Regions from separate parts of the Homo sapiens genome. Here region 1 is linked to region 2. The links are contacts of gene promoters, found by promoter capture Hi-C in blood cells and fetal thymus (Javierre and others, 2016). All regions are on one chromosome and are shown on one strand. The core of a region is centred on a gene start or on the middle of the fragment in contact, and the rest is flanking DNA. Distances in the headings are between cores, read along the strand shown.

Region 1 (3,147 bases), core at 58-2,557, 5.0 Mb after region 2:
CCAAGTAGAAATTGTACTTGGAACTGGTGCCGTTGGGTTGTAGACATAACATGCTTGCTGTTTGTATGGGAAGGGCTTTGCCAGTGCTCTGTGCCCCTGTGCAGGGCATCCAGGCCTGCAGGTCAGAACGGCAGTCTCACCTATGAGTTTGTGTAATACGCAGCAATTCTCCCTGGAATATAAGATGGGTGGTCTTGTGAGGTTCCTACAAGTAAGAAGACAAATTTCCCTTCAGTTTGTATTGACAAAATTCAAAATTAATAATAACAGCCCAACCTCTTGAATGATAAATGTCCTTTACATTGACAGACCAGAACTGCCCTGCTTGCCTCAGCTCCTCTGTGCAGGTGCAGCTCACAATTCCCCCCACACAGGTCATTTCCTCCCTGCTTTCTCCAAAAGAGGGAGACAGCAGTTCTGCAGGACCACAGGGCTCAAGGCCTTCCAGGGCCAAAAATCTCAGAAGAAGTTGCCCGTTCTGCCTGTACCTCACGACTGACCTAGAAATGGCCTTTGCTAGGAGCAAAGTAGGGGGAAATGGTCGCCAGAGCTGGGGCCTGGGTACTGGGCCAGGTTACCCCACAGGAGGGGAAGTACTCAGGGTTAGAGGGGGCCAAGCACCAAGACCTCAGCATCCTCAACCTCCAAAAGGACTCAGAGAGATGCAGAAACCGAGACAGGGTTCCTCTTTCAAGGAAAGAGACTTTTGAGGAAGACCCCAGGGCTCTGAACCAAAATCCAGATTTTTCCCCATCTGCAGCTTAATTCCACCTTAGTTGGTGCAACTTCATCCTTCCCCTATGCTCAGGACAAAAAACAGTTCTTCTATAGGCTGGTCATTCTCTGGCCCCATACATCCTATTGGTCAGAAAATTATGTTTTTTCTTTGGTTAACTGCAGACTTTGGTCTGCACAGTCTTTTTCTTTCTTGGTCTGAAAACCACCCAGTAGTCCCATATGTAGCTTTTTTGGATAAACCTAGAAATTGACCCTGCTGGTCTTAAAGCTTGAAACTTAATATTTGTTTCGTCTGAGTTCCTTCCTCAGGAAACAACCTTCAGGCCTCTCAAAAAAGCCATCAAAGAACTGAAATTCATCCAGACAATGAGATGCTGGGACCCCTCATTCATCATGATTGCTTCCTTGCTCCTCCCTAGTTCCTGTTTTCTTACACATTGTTACATTTCTTCCCTGCCATATAAACCTCTGGTTTTGTTGGTCAGGGAGATGGATTTGAGACTGAGTTCTCATCTCCCCCACTGCAGCACCCTATTAAAGCGCCTTCCTTGGCAATAATCATCTCGGTGATTGGCTTTCTCTGTGGCAACCAGCAGGAATCCCAGATCTCTGAATTTTGGCAAAGGAGTCTCCTGATAAAGGTGGGATGGATTCTACTGACCAACATCAAAACGATCAGACATTTGAAAGCCTTAATCTCAGGGTCGGGGTTTGGGCCGCCCTTGGGCCTTTTCCTTGGGCCTAACCATTAAAATCAGCCTAGCCAGGTCTGTCTTCCAGGCACAGGGGTAGGGCCAGATACTCCTGATGCTTTTTGACGCTTCTCCCACTGGGTGGGCAACAACCCTCCCCTTCCCTGTGACCTGCAGAGAAGCTTCAGGGGGCGTTTATTCAATTTGCTAGGAGCCTACAAAGCACAGGTACACGGTGACTCTGTGGTTCCCACTGCACCTGCCACTCTCCTTGGTCCCCTCACTGTCTCTGGCAGGCAGTAATGTTCTGGGTGAGCTTGGGTGCTGAAGACACCCAGGCAGGGAGGGTAGGGAAAGGCACCAGCCCCTTAGGTCCTGCGCATTAGGGATCCAAAAAACATCTGAAGAAACAGAAAGGGAGCGTTGGAAGTAGATCAAAGGGAAAGAAAGAAATCCTAGGAGATTTCCTATCTGAAGGCACCATGAAGAGAAAGTCCGCCTCCTCTGGGCCGCGTCCTCCTGTTGCAGGTGAACCGAGTTCCGGTCTCCATTGGAAACCAAAGCAGGTAACTTTGCCCTGACTCCTAGTTAGGAAGCCATGCTTTGTCCTCCCCTGTTTAGCACTTGATCCTGTAGCACTTGATTGTCTCTCCCTGGCTTTCTATGGATTCCAGAGATGCAACTGAGAAGTTTGTTTTTAATGCACTTTTCCTTAAAGTAAGAGTATTTCAGGCCGGGCACGGTGGCTTACACCTGTAATCCCAACACTTTGGGAGGCAGAGGTGGGCATTTTACTTGAGGTCAGGAGTTCGAGACCAGCCTGGCCAACATGGCGAAACTCTGTCTCTACGAAAAATACAAAAATTAGCCAGGTATGTTGGCACCGGCCTGTAGTCCCAGCTACTCGAGAGGCTGAGGCAAGAGAAACCTGTGAACATGGGAAGGGGAAGTTGCAGTGAACTGATATCAAAAAAAAAAAAAGTATCTTTTGGCAAAGGAAATGATTTCTGACAGGTTTTGCACTTAAGACACTCAGGTGTGAGGAAAACATGAAAACCACTATGCTAGGGAAAGCAAATGCTGTTGAGAATGTCTCATAAACACAAATTACATGTCAGCAGGTAGGTTTGACCCTCAGGTTGGGCACATTTTACTTTAAGTTCACTGTCGGTGGAACTTAAGATGAATCTAAGACATTCACGATGTATGTATGTATGTGTGTGGGTGTGTATACATATACATATATGTATACATATATATACACACACACATATATATATATACACACATATATATATGTCTCTCATATATATATGAGAGACAGAGTCTTGCAATCTTGCCCATATTGGTCTCCAACTCTGGGCCTCAAGCGATCCTCCTATCTCCCCATCCCAAAGTGCTGGGACTATAGGCATGCACCACCTCGTCCAGCCCATTTTAATGTTTTTAATTTAAATACACATTCCCAAAATTATATAACAAGTACAGGAAGCCCACTTTCAGCCAGTTTTACAAAAACAAAGTGGCAACATCCTAAAGTACTGAAAGAAATAAAGTTTTCCTAGAATTCTATGTCAAAGTGAAAAATCTTTCAAGAATATGACTGAAATAAGGACATTTAAAAACATATAAAAAATGAAAGAATTCAGCAACCCACACTACAAGAAATGCAAAAGGAGTCCTCCAGGCCTAAAGATAAGGATACCAGACAGAAATC
Region 2 (2,994 bases), core at 350-2,849:
ACTGCGGTGCTGAGCAAAGAATCAGGGGATCCACCTGCTGGTTTCACCTCTGCAAACTGACTCTAAAACACTTCACTCTGCTCACATCAGGCCCCATCTACCAAAACAAGTAACAGAAAGAATTGACCTTTACACTCAATTGTCCACTACAGTCTCATAAAAACCTTCTGAGGTAGGCGTTATTGTTATTAAATACAGGCCCAGAGAGATTAGGCGACGAATCCAAAGGTCGCACAGACACTAAGCAGTTGAGCAGATTCAACCACTGGTGAAACGCCAAGCCCAAGTTTCAACCACCCCACCATCACCTTCAGTGTCACCTCTGCAGACTTGGGAGGGACATATCTAGGGTGGACCAAGCGCTGGCCAGGACTCACCTGGGCTGAAGAGCTGAGCCCAGAGGAGCTGGTGGTCTTGAAGCAGCTCCGCCGCTGGCATGTCCAAGAGCTCCAGCATTTCCTTCCGTGCCAAGTCCTGCAGCGCCTTGAGCTCCTTGGCTGCTTTGCTTTTGAGCACCTGGGGGTTAATGGGGCCAGAGACGTGCACCACCCACAGCACCGTCTCATCCAGCTGCGTCTTGGGAGCCACTTGGAGGCGGTTCACCAGCTTCTTGGCGGCCACCACCACCAGGTGCACCAACCCAGTGGGCGTAGGCGGGGACCGGCCTGAGTAGAGGAGGAACTGATGGTCTCCGACCTTCTCCAGGGTACTGGTGAAGGCCTTGGGGGCTGGGCCGGCAGTGGGCCCCACAGTCTGCAGCGCGGCCACGCGCTCCGTGGGGTTGTTGAGCTGGATGCGCTGCAGGTAGACGTGGGGTCGGCCCCTGTGCGCCAGAAAGTCCTCTTGCAGCAGCACGCAGTCGCGGCCGGACCCCGCGGCAAGGCCAGAGACGGAGGCGGGCCCGGGGCCGGCGGCCACGGGGCCAGGACCTGGGGACCCCAGCTGCAGGCAACGCACGCGGCGCAGAAGCCCCTCCCGCAGCAGCAGCACCGCCTCTCCAGCTTCAGCCAGCGCGCTCAGCGGGCGCAGCTGCACGAAGGGCACAAAGTCCGGCGCCACGGCGGGCTCCCGCTCCCCGGGAGTCACCCACAGCCGATTGGCAGCCACGTCCAGGGCCAGGAAGCCGTTGGCCACCAGGGCCGGCACTCCAGGACCCAGCGGTACCACCTCACCGCGCTCCCGCAGGCCGCGCCAGGCGCGGGTGGCCGCCTCCAGGCAGGCAGACGGCTCGGCGGCGCCCGGCTCACCGCGGGACCAGGGCAGCAGGTGCAGGCCGCCCGCCGCCCGCCGCGCGCCGGACCCCCCAAACCACAGAAGCAGCAGCAGGAGGCCAAGCAGGCAGAGGAGGCGGCGGGCCCAGCTGCTCGACAGCAGTCCCGGCAGCCCCTTGAGCCGCTGCTGCAGCCACATCGGGCCGCCAGGCGCGGGCAAGGGTGCGAGGGCGGCCGCCGGGCCCGCCGCCCAGCCCACCGGCCCGGCCGCCCGCGCCTCACTGCCCGGCCCGGACCGCGGCGCCCACCCCGGCCCCCGCCGCAACCGCCGCAGCAGCCGCCACCCCTGCTTCCTCCTTCTTCTCGGTGGCCTCCAGCCGTCAAACGACGCCGGCGGTCAAGCGTCGCCGTGTCTTTTACGACAGATGGAAAACGGGAGGGCGGAGGGAGGAGAGAGAGCAGGCCGGAGAGAAGGGGGCGGAGCCACGGCGAGGGCGGGACAAAAGCTGCCGGGGGCGGGACCACTCGTTCCCAGGCCGGAAGAGTGAAGTCCAGTGGAGTTAAGTGCAGGGGTCTGGGGAGGACTGGAAGCATCCAATTCACTCGTGAAAAAAACATCGAGCCAGCCAAACCGAACACGTGTTGGGCCCCTTTGCTACTGATGGATTCAACAGCCCCAAAATTTAAAAACATACACACACACACACACAACAACTTTGTTTCTGTAAAAATGACCATCCTCTCGCCGCGCGCGGTGGCTCACGCCTGTAATCCCAGCACTTTGGGAGGCCAAGGCGGGCGGATCACGAGGTCAGCAGTTTGAGACCAGCCTGACCAACATGGTGAAACCCCATCTCTACTAAAAATACAAAAACTAGCCGGGCGTGGTGGCGCATGCCTGTAATCCCTGCTCCTCAGGAGGCTGAGGTAGGAGAACTGCTTGAACCCGTGAGGCGGAGGTTGCAGGCTTGCAGTGAGCCGAGATCACGCCACTGCACTCCAGCCTGGGCGACAGAGTGAGACTCTGTCTCAAAAAAAAAAAAAAAAAAAAAGACTATCCTCACTGCAAAAAAACACTTGGAACAATACGAAAAAGTGGAGGAAAAAAAAAGGAGAGAGAAGAAGAGGAAGAAAGAAGAAGAAAGGAAAAGGGAGGAGGAGGGGAAGGGGAACCACCAGAGGCCAGGAGTGGTGGCTCACGTCTGTAATTCCAGCACTTTAGGAGGCTGAGATGGGCAAATCACTTGAGGTCAGGAGTTCGAAACCAGCCTGACCAACATGGTGAAAACCTGTCTCTACTAAAAATACAAAAATTAGGCTGGGCACGGTGGCTCACGCCTGTAATCCCAGCATTTTGGGAGGCCGAGGCCGCCAGATCACGAGATCAGGAGATCGAGACCATCCTGGCTAACACGGTGAAACCCTGTCTCTACTAAAAATATAAAAAATTAGCCAGGCGTGGTGGCAGGCGCCTGTAGTCCCAGCTACTCGGGAGGCTGAGGCAGGAGAATGGCGTGAACCCGGGAGGCGGTGCTTGCAGTGAGCCAAGATCGCGCCACTGCACTCCAGCCTGGGTGACAGAGGGAGACTCTGTCTCAAAAAAAAAAAAATAAATAAATAAAAATAAAAAAATAAAAATGCAAAAATTAGCTGGGCGTGGTGGTGGGCGCCTGTAATCCCAGCTACTTGAGAGACTGAGGCACGAGAATCGCTTGAACCAGGGAGGCAGAGGTTGCAGTGAGCCGAGATCGCGCCACTGCACTCCAGCCTGGGCAACAGAGCG

What was found. Contacts are between HindIII fragments. The CHiCAGO score rates a contact against its expected background, and 5 or more counts as called.
Region 1: a contact is called between a fragment that was not itself captured here and the fragment with the promoter of KIAA2013 in region 2, in 1 of 17 cell types (monocytes). The highest score is 6.4, in monocytes.

Annotation. Positions count from the first base shown.
Region 1 is chr1:16,906,597-16,909,743 of GRCh38, forward strand. No RefSeq gene overlaps it. Among named protein-coding and RNA genes, the nearest start is that of RNU1-2, 12 kb to the left of the region's middle. The HindIII fragment of the contact is 606 bases long and covers 1,005-1,610 here.
Region 2 is chr1:11,924,828-11,927,821 of GRCh38, forward strand. It overlaps KIAA2013, which reads right to left and starts at 1,600. Exons shown (of 3, transcript NM_138346.3): 1 at 378-1,600. The coding sequence starts at 1,410. RefSeq lists enhancers at 544-1,206, 1,207-1,870, 1,525-1,819 and a silencer at 1,455-1,524. The HindIII fragment of the contact is 9,969 bases long and covers 1-2,994 here.